Regions from separate parts of the Homo sapiens genome. Here regions 1, 2, 3, 4 and 5 are each linked to region 6. Evidence: promoter capture Hi-C in 16 types of primary human blood cells and fetal thymus (Javierre and others, 2016). All regions are on one chromosome and are shown on one strand. Each heading gives the region's core, a stretch centred on a gene start or on the middle of the fragment in contact. The rest is flanking DNA. Distances are from core to core; before and after follow the strand shown.

What was found. The method cuts DNA at HindIII sites, captures the fragments that hold promoters and counts their contacts. A CHiCAGO score of 5 or more calls a contact.
Region 1: a contact is called between the fragment with the promoter of FANK1-AS1 here and the fragment with the promoter of CLRN3 in region 6, in 9 of 17 cell types (non-activated CD4 T cells, naive CD8 T cells, activated CD4 T cells and 6 more). The highest score is 15.3, in non-activated CD4 T cells.
Region 2: a fragment that was not itself captured here is called in contact with the fragment with the promoter of CLRN3 in region 6 in 2 of 17 cell types (M0 macrophages and M1 macrophages); the score reaches 7.1 in M0 macrophages.
Region 3: the fragment with the promoter of FANK1 here is called in contact with the fragment with the promoter of CLRN3 in region 6 in 4 of 17 cell types (M0 macrophages, naive CD8 T cells, activated CD4 T cells and 1 more); the score reaches 6.9 in M0 macrophages.
Region 4: a fragment that was not itself captured here is called in contact with the fragment with the promoter of CLRN3 in region 6 in 4 of 17 cell types (M2 macrophages, M0 macrophages, monocytes and 1 more); the score reaches 11.4 in M2 macrophages.
Region 5: a fragment that was not itself captured here is called in contact with the fragment with the promoter of CLRN3 in region 6 in 2 of 17 cell types (M0 macrophages and M1 macrophages); the score reaches 12.7 in M0 macrophages.

What each region holds. Positions count from the first base shown.
Region 1 is chr10:125,971,794-125,974,616 of GRCh38, reverse strand. FANK1-AS1 (FANK1 antisense RNA 1) reads left to right here and starts at 1,344. Exons shown (of 4, transcript NR_102707.1): 1 at 1,344-1,363; 2 at 1,493-1,655; 3 at 1,772-1,880; 4 at 2,276-2,429. The region is part of intron 1 of FANK1 (fibronectin type III and ankyrin repeat domains 1); the gene reads right to left. The HindIII fragment of the contact is 7,061 bases long and covers 1-2,823 here.
Region 2 is chr10:126,081,727-126,084,709 of GRCh38, reverse strand. All of the region lies in intron 11 of ADAM12 (ADAM metallopeptidase domain 12), which reads left to right. Among named protein-coding and RNA genes, the nearest start is that of FANK1-AS1, 110 kb to the right of the region's middle. The HindIII fragment of the contact is 2,020 bases long and covers 487-2,506 here.
Region 3 is chr10:125,895,260-125,898,062 of GRCh38, reverse strand. It overlaps FANK1 (fibronectin type III and ankyrin repeat domains 1), which reads right to left and starts at 1,499. Exons shown (of 11, transcript NM_145235.5): 1 at 1,408-1,499. The coding sequence starts at 1,420. It also overlaps a transcript of DHX32 not described here. RefSeq lists silencers at 929-1,223, 1,315-1,454, 1,615-1,694, 1,915-1,994. The HindIII fragment of the contact is 2,086 bases long and covers 407-2,492 here.
Region 4 is chr10:126,048,192-126,050,891 of GRCh38, reverse strand. ADAM12 (ADAM metallopeptidase domain 12) reads left to right here. Exons shown (of 23, transcript NM_001288973.2): 15 at 1,223-1,331; 16 at 1,441-1,639. Among named protein-coding and RNA genes, the nearest start is that of FANK1-AS1, 76 kb to the right of the region's middle. RefSeq lists an enhancer at 1,094-1,594. The HindIII fragment of the contact is 6,518 bases long and covers 1-2,700 here.
Region 5 is chr10:126,099,065-126,101,859 of GRCh38, reverse strand. ADAM12 (ADAM metallopeptidase domain 12) reads left to right here. Exons shown (of 23, transcript NM_001288973.2): 9 at 619-788. Among named protein-coding and RNA genes, the nearest start is that of FANK1-AS1, 130 kb to the right of the region's middle. The HindIII fragment of the contact is 1,256 bases long and covers 750-2,005 here.
Region 6 is chr10:127,891,494-127,894,193 of GRCh38, reverse strand. It overlaps CLRN3 (clarin 3), which reads left to right and starts at 1,253. Exons shown (of 3, transcript NM_152311.5): 1 at 1,253-1,638. The coding sequence starts at 1,410. The HindIII fragment of the contact is 797 bases long and covers 653-1,449 here.

The sequences.
Region 1 (2,823 bases), core at 95-2,594, 1.9 Mb after region 6:
AGAATATCTCATTTTTGCCAAAGGTAACAAGGGGTGCAGTAGAGTGTATACCAAGCTGTGTAGCATGCAATTGTTCTATGTTAGTTTTGTCTCCCCTGCTACACTTTAAGTTTCTTACAGGCTGGGTCCATGTCTTACACTTCCTTTGAAACTTCTCCCTGTAACTCAATCCTTCTTGAGCCTCAAATATATCACAGATTTACTGCATTGTTCATTTAAAAAAAAAGGATCTTGTATTTCCCTTGAGCCAATGTCCCAAGTAGCTGACCAGCACCCTCTGAAGACCCAGGGGTCTTCCTGCAGTGCAGACCCACTGACGAAGACAGGGCTGCCCTGGTCTTGCCACCCCAGGCCAGTGGGGCACACAGCCAACAATTTCCCTTACACGAAGACCCCAGAGATATGCTAGGAGGCAGCCTGCAAGCTCACTTTCCCAACTTTATTTTCCAAATGTTTATAGAAAGCATGATGGAATTGGATAAACCTAGGTTTGAATATGTTCTCTGAAACTGAGTTAAAAATACCACAAAGTGTTTTGTGATAATTAAGTTACAAAGTATCTAAATAAATGATGGCATATTTCCTACAGTAAAATCCTATACAACAACTAAAAGAAATTAGCTGTATGAGTTTTGTATACACCTGCATCAACATAGATCAATTCAAAATGGATGGGTGGAAAACATGGGTTGCAAAAGGACACACTACATAACACGCAAAAAACACTACATGTTATTTATGAATGCACAGATATGTAGTAAAAGTTAAAAAGCTGAAGGGAAGAACATACACCACCTCAACAACATAACGGAAGGGATGGGGGCATGATGGGCAGGAGGGGGGTCTTACCAGTATATTTGTAAGGTTTGATTTCTTCATGAAAAGACTTTATGACATATATGGCAAAATGTTAACATCTTAAACCAAATGGTACATTGAGTACATTACCATTTGAAATAATTTTGATATGTTTAAAATATTAGTTTTTGAAAAATAACCATAAAAATCAACAGTATACATTACCCTTATGGGCCTCTTGGTTTTCTTAGAGAAACCAATTTCAGGGTTCTAGATACTGAGGGATACATGTGGAAGAAGGAACTACTGAACCAGACACTGACCTCTTACTGTGAGTCATCTCACTGAATCCCAGCAATTCTGGCTGGTGATGTCACAATGACTCACATCTTCACGTCCTTGTATCACGACATCAGTGTTGAACAAATGATTTTTTTCACAGCCCACTAAAACCAAACACCAGGAATGGTAGACTGTTATGGATTACCCCCAAAATAACCAGAAGCCAACAAGTATTTCAATTCCAAAGACATCCAGCCTAGAATCCTACTAGAGATCAGAACAGGCAAGAAATTCTAAATTAATGTCAAATTTCAAAACAGTTCACCATGAAGTTATATGAGGAGTAAAAAGATAACATTCCCAGAGACCCAAAAGTTTCTTATGGCTTGTTCTTTACTGATCATTGATGTAGGTACATAATGAGAGATCTCCATCAGTGAGCTTGGCACCAGCCACAGGTGGCCCACTGCCACCAGAGCTGGGCACAGGCCCACTTCCAGCTGCTACTCATGATGGAGCAAAAACCCTCACTTCTAGCCATCACCCCTCCAGATCTGGTACAGAGCCCGGAAAAGGTGGGTGTGGTGCTTGGAAAGTTGGTTCGTGTGTGTGTGTGTGTGTGTGTGTGTGTGTGTGTGTGTGTTGGGGGCAGGTAGTGATCCAAATGTAATGGCAGCATGGTCTCTCCAAGGAAGCCTTAGGTGTGAGTGAAGCCTCAGTGAACACACACACGTGTCAGCAATGGACCAGCTGCTGCCAAATCACACAACTACGCAACACGTTGCTCAGAAATGCCAATGGTTAGTGTACGCCCCACTGATAATGTTCCTGCATCTTCTTTACTTTCATACAAAACTCATCAAGATGTAAATCTCCACTTAGGCAAGAGTTGCTTTTTGCAAAAAGCTATTATTGCCAGATAGGACCTGGATGGTCAGGTCATGAATGAATGACCTCATCAGGTAAGAGCTAGTTATTTTCAGAATGCCAAAAAATAGTGGATGGGACCCAATTTGTTTTGCTTTGTTTCTAAGCCAACCTAGAGTAATTTGACAGGTGTATCCTAATCCTTACAATATTAACCCATATACTTTCTACTTTCTCTTTGATAAAAATTCTGGTGTTTTTGTCATCATCTGCTAATATACATATTTTAGGATATTGGTTTTAGGATCCTAAATATGTATATTTACAGGTGACTAGCAGAGTGCAAACATTACTATGACAATGGAGCAGAGGCCCGGGGCGGCACCGAGCCTTGGTAAGAGCCGACAGAAATGGCAGGTCACAGGCCGTCACTGAGGAGAACTGCAATGCGGCAACACTTATATGACACTTAATTTGGGTCATGTACTAGTGTGGATGCTTTATTTATTCATTTAACTTTCACCACATTTAACTTCACCAACTCTATATGCTGTAAGGATTTTTATTATCTCCCTTATAAACAATCTGAGGCACAGAGAAGTTACATAACTTGCCCAAGGTCACACAGAAATAACTGGTAGAACCAGGATTAAAATGAAGATAATCTGGCTCAGAAGTCCCTTACTTTTAACCTTGTACCATACTGCCTCTTAAGAGTAGAGATATAAAATGTAGACCGGAGCGGCCGGGCGCAGTGGCTCACACCTGTAATCCCAGCACTTTACTTTCGGAGGCCAAGGTGGACGAATCACAAAGTCACGAGATCGAGACCATCCTGGCTAACATGGTGAAACCCTGTCTCTACTAAAAATACAA
Region 2 (2,983 bases), core at 247-2,746, 1.8 Mb after region 6:
ACTTCAGTGTCAGTTGCTCAGTGGGGCAAGAACTGGGCACATGTAGACTTCAGCCCTGGTGGCAGGCTTGTAGATATCTACCGTGACTGCTTTTTCTATCATGTTTGATTAGAAGCCTCTATCCTGTTACAGGCTTGCTAAGTCAGCAGAAAGAACTAGCGTATTCTGTGCAGGTCTGTCTACTGGGCTAGGAAGAAAGGGTGGTACCATTTCAGACATGCCCACTGTCCATTATTAACCACTGCATCTGTCCATGTCTACGAGAGTCTGCTCCTCCAACAACCCCCACACAAATTCAGCAGTCATTTCTTGCAATGAAGCTGAGTAGCTCGTCTGATACATGGCCTCTGATGGGCTGAGGTCCTTTTAATATGGACACTGTGTCCCCCGCCCCTGGGTTCTTGGTCTTTCAGGACTTGGTGCAGGAAGAAATAGCCATCGTAGCTCAGAAGTGAAAAGTCCACTTTCTGGTAACGTCCAGAAGCTTCCTGTACATGTCTCAACTGACCAGAGCTCAGTTGGTGACTTTATTAAAAATTCTGGGAAATTATATTTGCACTTAAATTGGTTTCAGGGAGGAGGAGCAGAGGTCAAAGTTCACAAGTTAAGACCATGAATTATAATGTGCTGCAGATGGCTGCATTCTGGGGCCCAGGTGTTTGCTATTAACAATGGAAATGGCCTACTAAGGATCTTTCTGGTCATTTGCTCCTGGCCTGGTGGTTTTCTTAGCTTTCTGTGGTCCGTCTGGTTGGCCCACTGGCTCAGCGTCCAGTTATAAGGCAGTCACTTTCTGTTTCTGGAGTGGACGTGAGGATGGATTGCCCCATTAGCTTCAGCCTCGGTTCTGTTCTATCGTTTGAGCCTGTGTGGTCAGAGCTGTGTCCCTGTGCACCGCTGGGCAGGCAGAGTGGGCTGACTCAGGCCCAGCTCCCTCTCCCATCACACCATGAGGAGGAGTCACGAGGCTTTTGAGGCGGGGCGCCTATTTCCCCTGCCTGCAGCTCATTAGGGTCTCAACAGGCTTGCAGCCCTCCTCAGGTGTGCACGATCTGGCCCAGGTATCACCTCAGGCTAGCTGGATGAATCCCAAGACTGGGCCTTTGTCTTCTGTTACACCAAAGACCTTTAGGGAAGTCCTCTAAGGTACACCTGGAAGGAAGTGTAGAACCTTGGGTGTTCCTTCTGTTTACGTCTGGCTCCAGGGAGTCCCGAGGCATCGGAGCAGCTGCCTCTCCCAACCCATGGATACTACTGCTGCTGGCATAGCCATTTGTGCTGGGTCATGCCTGAGGCTGCCCAGAGGCCCTGCCCTGGGGCAGCTCCTGATAGCCCTCGAGACGGTGTGGTTGAGTGGGAAGAACACAGGCCTTCTAGTCAGATCTGTGCTTTCAGTCTCCACGCAGGAACTGCAGGGTCCCGGCAAGGAACCCAAGCTGCCTGCACTCAGCTTCCTCATCTCTAAAATAGGAGTCATAATTGGCTCCCAGAGGTGTCAGTGAGAGAATGTCTGCCAGGCTTCTGGTCCCCAGCAGGGTTTCACTAAACAAATGGTGGCTCCTGGCCAGCCCCGCTCCAGGCAGCATGGAGTAAAAAGCCCCTAAAATGAGATGACCTCCTTGCATCCACAGCAGGCCTGCCACGGCACTGAACATGAGGCCGGTCACCTGCGAGTACAAATGCCACCGCCCTGGCCTACCAGGCGTGCTACTTGGTTGCACATAAATTCTGTGTGTGGTGATTGAAAGTTTTTATTGTTGGGCATAACTGGGGAAAGACCTGAAGATTTTCCTGAAGATGGCCCTAGAATTTTTGGTCAGCAGCTTGTCCAAGCAATGTCCATTCCCCACACTGTGGTCCCCTGCCCCCTCATACTGTAAGAGGACCTCGCTCTCACTTGGGAAGAGAAGAGGGAATTCATGTTGGGCTTATGCTTCTCAAGGGACTAGGAATATGTAGAACTGGCTGTGAACTAAGAATGGCTAAGTTGTTTTTGGAAAAGCTCAGCAAGCTAGTTATGGAATGAATGATAAAAGTTGTGGCCGGCATGGTGGCTCACGCCTGTAATCCCAGCACTTTGGGAGGCCGAGGTGGGTGGATCACCCGAGGTCAGGAGTTTGAGACCAGCCTGGCCAACATGGCAAAACCCCATCTCTAATAAAAATACAAAAAAATTAGCCAGGCATGGTGGTGTGCACCTGTAATCCCAGCTACTCAGGAAGCTGAGGCAGGAGAATCGCTTGAACCCGGGAGGCGGAAGTTACGGTGAGCCGAGATCGCACCACTGAACTCCAACCTGGGCTACAGAGCGAAACTCCACATAAAAAAAAAAAAAAAAAAAAAAAACAGTCATTAGATTGTCTTCTCCAGAGAATGGATCCCACAATTTGTGGCCACGTCTCACTCTGAGCTCAGTGCCTGGACTTGGCTGTGGCCAGGAAATGGACGGAAGATGTGGGGTGAGCTCATGTGACATGAGCTTTATGAAAAGGGCCAGAAAAAAGCTTTCAGGAACAGAAGACAACCACAGCTGCGTAGCAGGTAACAGCCATCTAAATGGCGTTTTTGTTTTGTTTGTGGATTGCTTCATTGGTTGGTTGTGCTCCTAACTACATGCTCTTGTTGAGCTAAAGAAAAACTGGCCCTTCCAGAATGGAACAGGCTGTTTTGCTTCTTTGACACCATCTATGTATTAAACGGAGGGAATGATCTTTAACTGTTTGCTCATCCCTTCGCCTCCTGAATCATCTTGCTCTCAAATTTACTTGTATTTGTGGTTTTACAGTGTAAAGCGTGCTCTATTTTGGCTACAAGTACTACATTCTATACCATATTGGAAATGTTCTTGAGCACTATCATATACGGGGGGATTCGCAGTCAGGGCAACTCCCAATGGGAGAAAGAAAGACACATCTTTTGCCTGTCAGTACTAGGAGCTAGCATTTCACAGTGCTTGGAAGTTAACCAGACTTTGATCTTTTTG
Region 3 (2,803 bases), core at 250-2,749, 2.0 Mb after region 6:
ACTCCAGGCACGCGCCACCACACCTGGCTTTTTTTTTTTTTTTTTTTTTTTTTTTTTTTTTTTTGTATTTTAGTAGAGATGGGTTTCACTATGCTGGCCAAGATGGTCTCAATCTCCTGACCTCGTGATCCGCCTGCCTCAGCCTCCCAAAGTGCTGGGATTACAGGCGTGAGCCACCGGGCCAGGCCAAGTTGCTGTTTTTAAAAGGTATATTTCAACTCACTTCTCTAAGGCGGGAATATACACAGCCTGCCATCAGTTTGACATAAAACAAAAATTTTAGCGTTCTTGTATGCTAAATTTCTTTTACTAGGTTAAAAAAATGTAGAATCCAAAGAGCTGTAAATGCAAATGACAAATACTGTACAAAATCTATCAAGCAACTATAAGTCACAACTTGCAAGCTTTCTCCTCAGCAAATGAGTTAAAAGGAAAAGTATTTGAAACTTTCTTGGTGGAAAACGAATGACCTTTAAAAATGCCAACATTTTCCCCAGAGAATAGATTTGGTCTGAGTTCTTCATTTCTGAAATTGTACAAGATAAGACGACTTGGTTTGAGAGTCAAACTGCATCCTTCTATAAAGGTTTTAGATAAATTTTAAGTCTCCATACAAAACACTCCCCTTATTTTGAGAACAAAAGGAACAATAAGACAGCTTAGGCGGGGCAGAGAAAGAAAGGCCTTGAAACAAAGTCCCTGGAAAGGTAAAAACAACAACAAAAATAGTAAGTTAGAGCTCGTGTTTAGATCTGATAACTCAAAACTGCACAACTTTTGCCATACATCGAAAGCAACATGGGAAAACAGAAAAAGAGATTACAAACATTTTTTGAGTGTCCTAACTTGTAGAACCCCTAAGAATGAATCAAATACACTTGGACAAAGCTCTTCTTTTCTCTCTCTCTCCTTCAAGTCGCAGACTAGGGGTGTGGGGCGGGGGGCGGGGAGTAAGACGGGGTCTCTAATAAATACAAGACCCAGCCTCGGACGTGTTTAATTGCTGACATTTTAGAAGAAAAATGGGCTACTTACAATTAATGAACCAAACTACCAAACTAAAATCATGAGTAGGAGGAGGAGTAAATGGAACCGTCCGGGCGAAGTTTCAGGAAGACGCACGCTGGGGTCGCTGCGCCCTTCCCCACCCATACCTCGGGGCTCTCCAGTCGCTCCCAGCCCCCAGCGCGGACTCTAGGGCGCCGGCGGCCCAACCATACAGACTTGGCAGGATGTAGCCCCCTTCTCCCCTCTCCAGGAGAGAAAAGCGCGAGGAGACGCAAACCGTATTTCCGTGTCCGAGCGTTGAAACCTGCGGAGTCGCGCGCGGGGCGCCCACACTCGTTCCCGGGGAGCCCCAGCCCGGTCGCCCGCCCCGGTCCCAGCTCCAGCCCGGGCCTCCCTTACTCTGGGGCTCCATGGTCGGCTGCTCCCCGGCCTCCGCGGGCGAACCCCCGGACTCCTAACGCCTCTCAGCCAGGGCCGGCGTCGCTACGGTTGCCCTGACAACCCGGAGGCGAAGTGGGCAGAACTAAAGGGACGGCGAGCGGGAGGGACCAAAAGCCGCAGGAAGTGAGGGAGCGCGTGAGGACCCGCGCGTCGCCGGGGACACTGAGCGAGGGTAGCGGCCAGGTCACCGGCTGAGGACACTGCTCCTGAAGCCCGGTCAGGCGGTCGCGCCCTCCCTGGCGGCCCCCGCGGCCCCGCAGGACCTGTGCCCCGACGTCGCCGACCCGCGGTCCCCGCTGTCGCCGACCCGCGGCGTCCGTCGGGCGAGTGGGCCTGCCCGCGGGTAAGGCGCCGGCCCTGGGCCGCCCTCCCGGGAATCGGGAGCCGCCGCTGCAGGTAACAGCGGGGCCCCGGCGGCGGAAGGGGTCGGGGGTCGGCGCAGGGGCGGGCGCGCCCCGAGCCGGGTGGGCGGCCCCGGCGCACCTGTTGTAGCCGCCTGGGGGTCCCCTGCCCGCAGTTGGCCGTGGACGTTCCCCGCCCCGACTCCGAAACGCCGAGGGCGGCCTCCGCGCCTCCTGCTCCGGGAGCCGCGCCTCAGCGGGAGGACGGAGCCCTGCGGGCAGCCCTCGCACCAGGGGCTCCCTCCGAGCCCGGGCATGGGCCGGGCCTGGGGCGGTCCCTCGAGCCCCCCTGACGGGAAGCGTGGAGCAATGCGAGCCGCCGCCGTCGTCGCTGTCGTCCCCAGTGAGCCTGGCGCGTCTCCTGAATCGCGAGAGCCAGGAGCACGGTTTTGCCCGGCTTTGCCCCGTCATCCCCGTGTCCCATTTCAGGCAGGGGGCCCGGGTTGGATCTTTCTCGCTGGCTTCGTTTTTTGTGTGTTGATTTGTTTCAGTCCTTCGCGTTTCCGGTTGAGTTACGGAATCTGCCCACACGTTTTGTGGCCAAACTTTGTAGGGCTGTGAAACAATGTAACATTATCCCACACAATAGTCTTTCATACTGGTTTTAAAACACAGTGATTCAGGGTTTGCTTTAAGGAAGCTTTGAGGATCACAAGAGATTATTATCTGGTAGGTTGTAAAAATTCAAACAACCAGGAGAGTATCATAGGTTCCGGAACACCAGAAGGAGGAAAGAAAAATGGAGACGAGAGAAAAAGGATAAGCAAGAAAGTGCAGGGGCATTAAGGGTGTGGGGGGCTGCAGGATTGATTTGGTATTCAGGTCTGGAGATTATGGCCCCTCTATTAATTCCAACCGCTGCTCCAGACAGTACTTGAGGGAAATGGAAGGAAGAGCCGTTTTGGGGGTCATGGAAGTGATTACTAATCTTGCCAGTAGAAAGATTTCCACTC
Region 4 (2,700 bases), core at 154-2,653, 1.8 Mb after region 6:
CTCTAACATGGCTTATAAAAGAAATGAGAAAAGGAGAGGTGCAAGGCTGGCTCATTGCAGAGATTGGAGCGCTGAGCACACTGTTCACATCAAATGATGGCAAGGTGGTGTGGCACGTGTGTGTTGAATGAGATGATCATGTCTGCTAGTAGCTGATGAGAAGGGATCAGGTGCAGGCTAACGAAGGGGGATGTTTTTAGTAAGAAGAACATCTTCTGTTCCCTGGGACGAGGTATCTTAAATAAATCCGTTGTCACCTTGGAAAGCAAAGCCTCCCCAGGGTGGAGAGCAGAGAAGGGCAGGAGTCAGAGTGAGGCTCTGGAGTGTCGGCATCCTGGCCATCAGAAGCGATGTGAGATAAAGTGCCAAACAGGACACCAATCAGGGAGAGAAAAGGGACCACGCCGCAGGGCATGGTTTGTTCTAAAGAATGTGGCATGTTTTCTTGACTTGCTCAATAGTCTTCAACAGACATCACTATGTCCAGGATTCAGGAGTCCTCCAGAACTTTGGCTGCAAATGCTGATTATATGTGCTCTCTCCGTGGCTGGAAGATGTGCTAAAAATGGCCATTTCTGAGCTCTCTGGCTGCCATGACCCTCTTTGCTGGGAACCGTCATGTTGTACATAGGGATTACCAGGGTTTATGACTCCATGGCCTCTGAGAGAAATCTCTGCCTTGCAAATAAAATAGAAGGTATTAAAAGAAGGTAGTACTTTCTCTTATAGGGAGCTTTATGGGACTAAAAATATCATAGAAGATATCTTCATTGCTCCTTTGGAGCCTGCCCTGGCTTGCATTTCCTCACCGGAATTGTGTGGGATGTTGTTAAAGAGAGCAAACTTCCCCTTCTCTGCAGCCAGCCAGCCAGCCAGCCAGCCAGCCAGCCAGCCAGCCAGCCACCTCCTTTCTGCCCTGGATCAGATCTCATTCCACAGCCAGGCCTCATTTCCTGAGAGGCCACACATGCCACAAGCCCAGAGAGCAGACCTAAGGAAGAGTAAGCATTGGAACATGTGCTCTGCCAGAGGCCGAGTCAAGAGAGGATGCGAGCTGCTGACACCCTAGGCTTCCCCTGGCCAGCTCCCACCATGAGTCGGGACAGACACTGGGTGTGATTGCTTTGAGCACGTCTCCCCGTAACCATTTGAGAGGCCTACAGCCATGAAAAAAAAAAAATCACCTGCAGGAGATGAAAATGCAGTTCTGCTTCTGTTTCAGGTGCTAAACCTGCCCCTGGGATCTGCTTTGAGAGAGTCAATTCTGCAGGTGATCCTTATGGCAACTGTGGCAAAGTCTCGAAGAGTTCCTTTGCCAAATGCGAGATGAGGTATGGAATCCAGACATCCTGGCAAAGTCTTTGCTCTGACCTTCCCACATTGCATAGGGTTGGTTCCAAATGGTTTCTCCTTGGGAATTGTTTGTTCTTACCCTTCCAGAGATGCTAAATGTGGAAAAATCCAGTGTCAAGGAGGTGCCAGCCGGCCAGTCATTGGTACCAATGCCGTTTCCATAGAAACAAACATCCCCCTGCAGCAAGGAGGCCGGATTCTGTGCCGGGGGACCCACGTGTACTTGGGCGATGACATGCCGGACCCAGGGCTTGTGCTTGCAGGCACAAAGTGTGCAGATGGAAAAGTAAGACCCAAATGTTTGCTTGGATCATAAATGTAAGTCTGGAACAGGGCCCATTGAAAAACAGCAAGAACTGGGTTACAAGGTTTGTTGGTTTTCCTAAATCTACTTCTTCTCAGATGCACCTAGAAGAAAAAGTCAATAAATCCTAGATCCTGGTCTGACTATTAAAATGCAGATTGGGGAAAAATCAAGCCTGTCTTCTTAGGCCTTGAGTGTTAATAAGTCATTTCTACACTCCAGGTGGCATGAGGACTTCTAGCCAGGAAATTACTTTGGAAAGAAATACAATCGCATATTCTATTGGTTTTGGATATGTGGCTTGGTTTTTAGCACAGAGTTCTTGGGGGCTTGTCCTCACCTGAACAGAATGGGAAATCAGATGTATTTTTAGAACCCTGTAGAGAGAAGAATAGGAGAGGGAAAGGAGTGGAAGAAACTCAAAACCAGAGGGGAGTCCTTTCAGAGAACAGGGAGAAAGATACATGGAGATATTTTGAGGTTTAGAAATAAAGTCAAACTTTTTTTTTTTTTGGAAGAAAAAAAGAATTTGAGATTTTCATGCTCTGCCATACTGATTTTTTTTTTTTCACCAAACTTTCTCATCAGACTAAATGACAGCAAGCGAATACAATGTTTTAAGAAAAGGATGAAACAACCCCCAAATGCTTCTTAGGACTCCATTTTCAACATGGTCTTGAAATCACTCACTAACATGAGGTCACACAGGCAAGAAAAGACAGAGGCAGAGACAGAATCCTGAGGACAGGTGTTGCCTCCACTCTCCTGTCTTTGGCCCCACACACCCTGAGCCACAAATCCTTTTTCCTTGAGAAATAGGATCGTACATGAATCTTCTTATACATTCTGAATGTCTCCTTACCCACATTTGCTCATATTCAGGCCTTGACATTAAAATGACATCTGATATTTTTAGGCTCAAATCATATTTTGTCTTTTAACTTTTAGGTTCAGGGGTACATGTGCAGGTTTGTTATACAGGTAAACTTGTGTCATGGGGGCTTGTGGTACAGATTATTTTGTCACTCAGATACTAAGCCTAG
Region 5 (2,795 bases), core at 128-2,627, 1.8 Mb after region 6:
GAGGATAGTCATTAATGTTCCTGAAGAAGGGCTCTGTTTATGCCTTTGTTATTCTGAAAGATATTGACTTCTTTATTTTATTAAAACCTGCGTTGATTATAGGTGACAGAATATGATAGTGTTAGCCAGAGCTGAGACTTTGCTGAAAAATTAATACAGATTCATTTTCAGTAACTAATAAGCAGAACATTTTGCTCAAAATGAACAAGTTATTGTCCTTGGCAGAAGTGTCTGAAAGATCCTAATTCACTTATTGTTTCACTTGCAGTGGATATTAACTGGCCATCTTTAGCTATAATACACATCTGTATGTACATTTTAAATCACCAGTGAGTCATTTGAAATGTATGCTTCCATACAAATGCAAGTAGACAGTAAAAAAGCTGATAACTTCAGCATCTAATTGGTCAATCTTCGAGAACCTAGTTAACACATCACTTTGCATTAGGCACTGCAAATATTTCTTAAATTCCAACACCACAGGAACCAAAGAGCACAGAGATATTTTTCTCACCTGTGTCAGTGACCCTCAAATAACGCAAATCTGTTCTAATTTTCATTTCGAGTTTTTATTAACGTGATCCCAACTCCAATGCCAGTTTTGCCTGTTTTGCCCAGTTTTACAGACCACTGAACATTCGGATCGTGTTGGTAGGCGTGGAAGTGTGGAATGACATGGACAAATGCTCTGTAAGTCAGGACCCATTCACCAGCCTCCATGAATTTCTGGACTGGAGGAAGATGAAGCTTCTACCTCGCAAATCCCATGACAATGCGCAGCTTGTCAGGTAGGGAGTTACGTCTTGTCTGCTTAAAAAAAAAAGGAGTGCTCTCGGCGAAGCCCTTCGTTTCACCTGCACAGCCCCAGGAGCTGCCACCTTTCTGCAGAGCACACTGCCTTGTGCAAGGGGGCTTCTCAGCTCACACCAGGGGGGCAGATGCCACCCTCACCTGGAACTGAAGGTCTGCTAGGAAAGTCTCCCTCTGAACACCCTGGAAAACCTGTCCCTCTACAGAACTCTCATTTCCTTCTTCTAGAACCCGGACATTTTCTTCTATACCAATTTTTCTGATTTTAGCTGTGATGTAAAGTTGTTCTGAGTAGCCTATTTTTTTGTTTTGTTTTTTGTTTGTTTGTTTGTTTTTGAGACAGAGTCTCTCTCTGTCACCAGGCTGGAGTGCAGTGGCATGATCTCAGCTCACTGCAACCTCCAGCTCCCTGGTTTAAGTGATTCTCCTGCCTCAACCTCCCGAGTAGCTGAGATTACAGGCACACGCCACCACGCCCAGCTAATTTTTGTATTTTTTTTTTTTTTTTTTAGTAGAGACAGGGTTTCACCATGTTGGCCAAGATGGTCTCAATCTCCTGACCTCATGATCCGCCCACCTCGGCCTCCCAAAGTGCTGGGATTACAGGCATGAGCCACCGCGCCAGGCCGAGGAGCCTGTTTTTAAAGATTCATCATTATTAGTGGAAAATGTATGTTTATACAATATCTAAGGACAGTACTTTGGGTGAATACTGTCAGATTCCTGGAGGGAAAAAAGACTTTATTCCTCCTCCTGTTGTGGCTGTGACTCTTTGGTTTTCTAGATCAGAGAATACCGGGAAGCATAGCACATTAACCTTGTGTTCCCTCTTTAAATCAATATGCATCACCCGTTAGGAACCAAAGAGTGTTTGGGGGGCTTTGAACACAGTGGTGACCAACACTGTAAATCTCCCTGCTCTCAGAAGTCTCCACTCTACTGAGAGACAACAATAAAGAGGACAATTTCAGCAGGATCAACTGGAAGATGATAAACTAAGGCAAAGCATAGCTCTATTATAACACAAAAATTGTTGAGATGTTGCCGATGCTTTTATACTTAAAAAAAAAAGGAACAATCTAAATTAGTATGAAGTAGATGTTTCTAGAAGTGACAAATTTTTATTTAAATCTTTAAATACTTTGTGCTATTATTCTTTTGTTGTCATGTGGCTTATAGCACAGAAAGGAAAGCTTCTGGGACAGAGACTTTCCTTTGACAAACCCAATGTAGCTATTGAACATTTGTGGAAAGTTAAAAAACCAGTCCTACCCCATTGTCACTTCAGAAAATGCCTACGTCTGAACTGAGGCTGTTGGCATTCTTTGATAATTTACTTCGGCCATTTTCACAGGGTTCCCCCCTGCCCCTACCCTTGGATATTTGTGGTTGCCTCACATTTTATGCATTGATTAGTCTTGAACTACTAAAAGTACATTTTATGTATTTTGAGTCAGAGTGTTTTGATATTTTTCCCAAATGGAGTCTGTCCAACTTGAACATCTGGAAATAAATTATCATCTTATGTAACTTTATTATTTATATACATGTATAATTATATCTGTTCATATAGTCTATATAGATGTAAATAAAGGCCGAAATTTCTACCACTGTAAATATAAGTATAGTGGGATAGGTGGATAGAGAGGGAGGGAGGGAGAGAGGGAGGGAGAGAGGGAGGGAGGGAAGGAGGGAGAAGGTTTTATATACACTTACCACTTTCTGTTCAATTGACCATAGCTAAAATATCTAACTTTTCAAACAATATATCTGTATACATACATGGCCAAGATAGCATTGGTAAGTCATTTGACTCCTTTAAAGGAAATTCAACAAATACAGCGTTTTGTTTTTCATGCATGAGGTTGGAATTAACAGCACTTGTGTTCAACAGGCCCTTGGTGTCATTAGATTCATGATCAGGTTAAGATTCCAGATAGAAGGACGACTGCATTGAAGCCATGAAGTCCCCTTCCAGAAGCTTC
Region 6 (2,700 bases), core at 4-2,503:
TGTACGTATCTCCAATAATTTATTGAACAAATGTTTGCTGAGTGTCTTCTCTGGGCCAGGCTCTTTGAGAGTTCCCTGGAATCCAGTGGTACACAAAACAAACATGTCCACCTCCCGGAGCATGTCATCTAGTTACAATAACGGAAAAGACAGATGATCAGCTAGTTCCACAAATAAGTTAGGTGTTAATGAAGAAAAGTAGAGGATGAAGTAATTGCGTTTTTTTGCCATTAAAAGTAAATGTAACTTTTAATGGCAAAAACTGCAATTACATTTGCACCAACTTAATATTATATTACTAAATAATCAAAGAATACAGTAAAAAGCGGTATGGAAAACATGCTATGAATGTCTATTTATCATCTCAAGAAATGATCTTTTCGCCAAATGGGAGAGTTTTTCGAAAGTCCAGAAATGACCATTTATAAACTATTTACCATTCAACAGAGTGGATACAGCTATAACGACCAAAAACAAGAATGTTCAGAACCATCTCTATCAGAGTACTAAAAAGTAATAAAGATGAAACTTCTCAAGATATAATTTAAATAATACGCAAATATGATCCAATTTGAAAGAGGAAATTTGAAAGCCAAACCTCTCTGATAAAGTCTAAAAATAGAGAGGTATAAAACATAAGGAGGTGTAAGCTTTTCTCTTTCCACTCCACAGTACATTTGACAAAGGTTTACCCTCCTTAGGATTCCTCTTGGAACAATTATAAGAGTCAAATCACTAATGAGTAAAGAAACTGAGCAATGCATAGCAAAAACTTCAGAAAAATCCACAGACTTCGTCAAACTTCTAGAAGTTTAAGCAAGGAAGCAAGTGGAGATATGAACAAAGGTTTATGCCTAAAGATATTTGGGTGTTGTTCTTTCTCAATCATAATTGTGAAATTGAAGCAACATAAATATCCACAATAGTGAAGTATATGTTTACATATTTCCAATAATTCTTGGAGGAGTTGGGGTTTCATGTTGTTGTCTGCTAGACTCAGCAACGCTTTGGGAATACAGATCCTCCACGCCCTATTATTTAGGAATTCTACTCCTGTCATGATATGGTAGGCTAAACTTGCTTCCATGACACTTGGCCAAGGATTATAAATTAATTGCATGATTGAGGAAGTCCCTGGGAAGACCATGCCCACCCCTTGTTCATGCTGGTTGGCTGTAACCATAGCAGCCTCTTACTCCAGACCAAAGTTCAGCTACTGTTAATTTTATGGCCATGTTCAGAGTTCAATGTCCATTAGCATAACCCTTCCTCAGGAAGAGTGAGATTTTATATTTGACAATAAAGTGTTAGACTCCATTTCTAAATACCAGACTTCAAAAGATAAGGTTCAAAAGTGTTATAAGAAGATATTCCTTTTTTTGTCCTAGAGAACTTATTTTCCTGTGAAAATGCCTACCACAAAGAAGACATTGATGTTCTTATCAAGCTTTTTCACCAGCCTTGGGTCCTTCATTGTAATTTGCTCTATTCTTGGGACACAAGCATGGATCACCAGTACAATTGCTGTTAGAGACTCTGCTTCAAATGGGAGCATTTTCATCACTTACGGACTTTTTCGTGGGGAGAGTAGTGAAGAATTGAGTCACGGACTTGCAGAACCAAAGAAAAAGTTTGCAGGTAAATGATAAACTAATTTGAATGAATATAGTGAGATTGAATTAAGGTTTATGTCATTCTATATTTGGGCCAAATAACCATTCAAAAATAATTTCTTTGTAAGTTTTGGGTTAGGCTGAAGGTACAAGCTTAACTCATAATTTTGGAAATTTGCCATGTCATTATTTGAGCTTCCTCGGTTCTCCTTGTGTCTATTAATACAATAGTCTATATCATTCTAGCAGTGGCTGTATTTAAATAATACCTACCAAGTTGACTGACAAGTAAATAAGTAAAAATATGTGGCAGCAATACGGCATTGAATAGCCAGTAGGAACACATGTTTTAACTGTATTGACTGGGTTTTTAGCTGGAGCCACAACCTCTGTCTAGAACTTCACAAGTGGCATCTATGCAGGAAAGAGTAAAATGGAAAATTTATTATCTCTATTTCTCAAGTTCATTTCTTTAACTGATTTTAATTTACCTCCAAAAAATCTAATCGTTGGAAATTATATTAAATTTCCATTAATTTATTAATTGTATATTTGATAGGAATTCCTAAACATTTTTTTTTCTGATTTCTTATATAATAATGCCCTCCTCTCCATGGAAGTAAAATTAAAAGTTCATTGAGAATAATAAGTTGATTTAGCTACTTATTTGACTTTTGAGGTTTGATAACCTACCTTCATGTTTTCTAAATTTAAAAACATTTGTAAATTATGTAACACATTAAGTGGACTTTGTTTTGAACAATGTTGTATGCAAGTATTATACAGGCATTATTGGGTATCATACAGTCATTACCTTTTGACTTATAAATATGCATCATTTTCTACCTTATACACATGTAATGTTTAGTCCTTGTGTAATGCATGAAGAAGTTTGAGTCCTAGACACTAGCTCTAAGTTCTAGCTCTAGTGTGTTTATGACTTTGTTAATGAAACTATTTTCTTAAATCCAAAGCAACCTGGTTATGTTCCCAAGTTATACATTTGTCATTTAGATGTTAGCAAAAGCAGCATCTCCCCTAGCATTGCCATAGCCTTTCAGGGACATCTCCTCTGGTGTCAACCTCA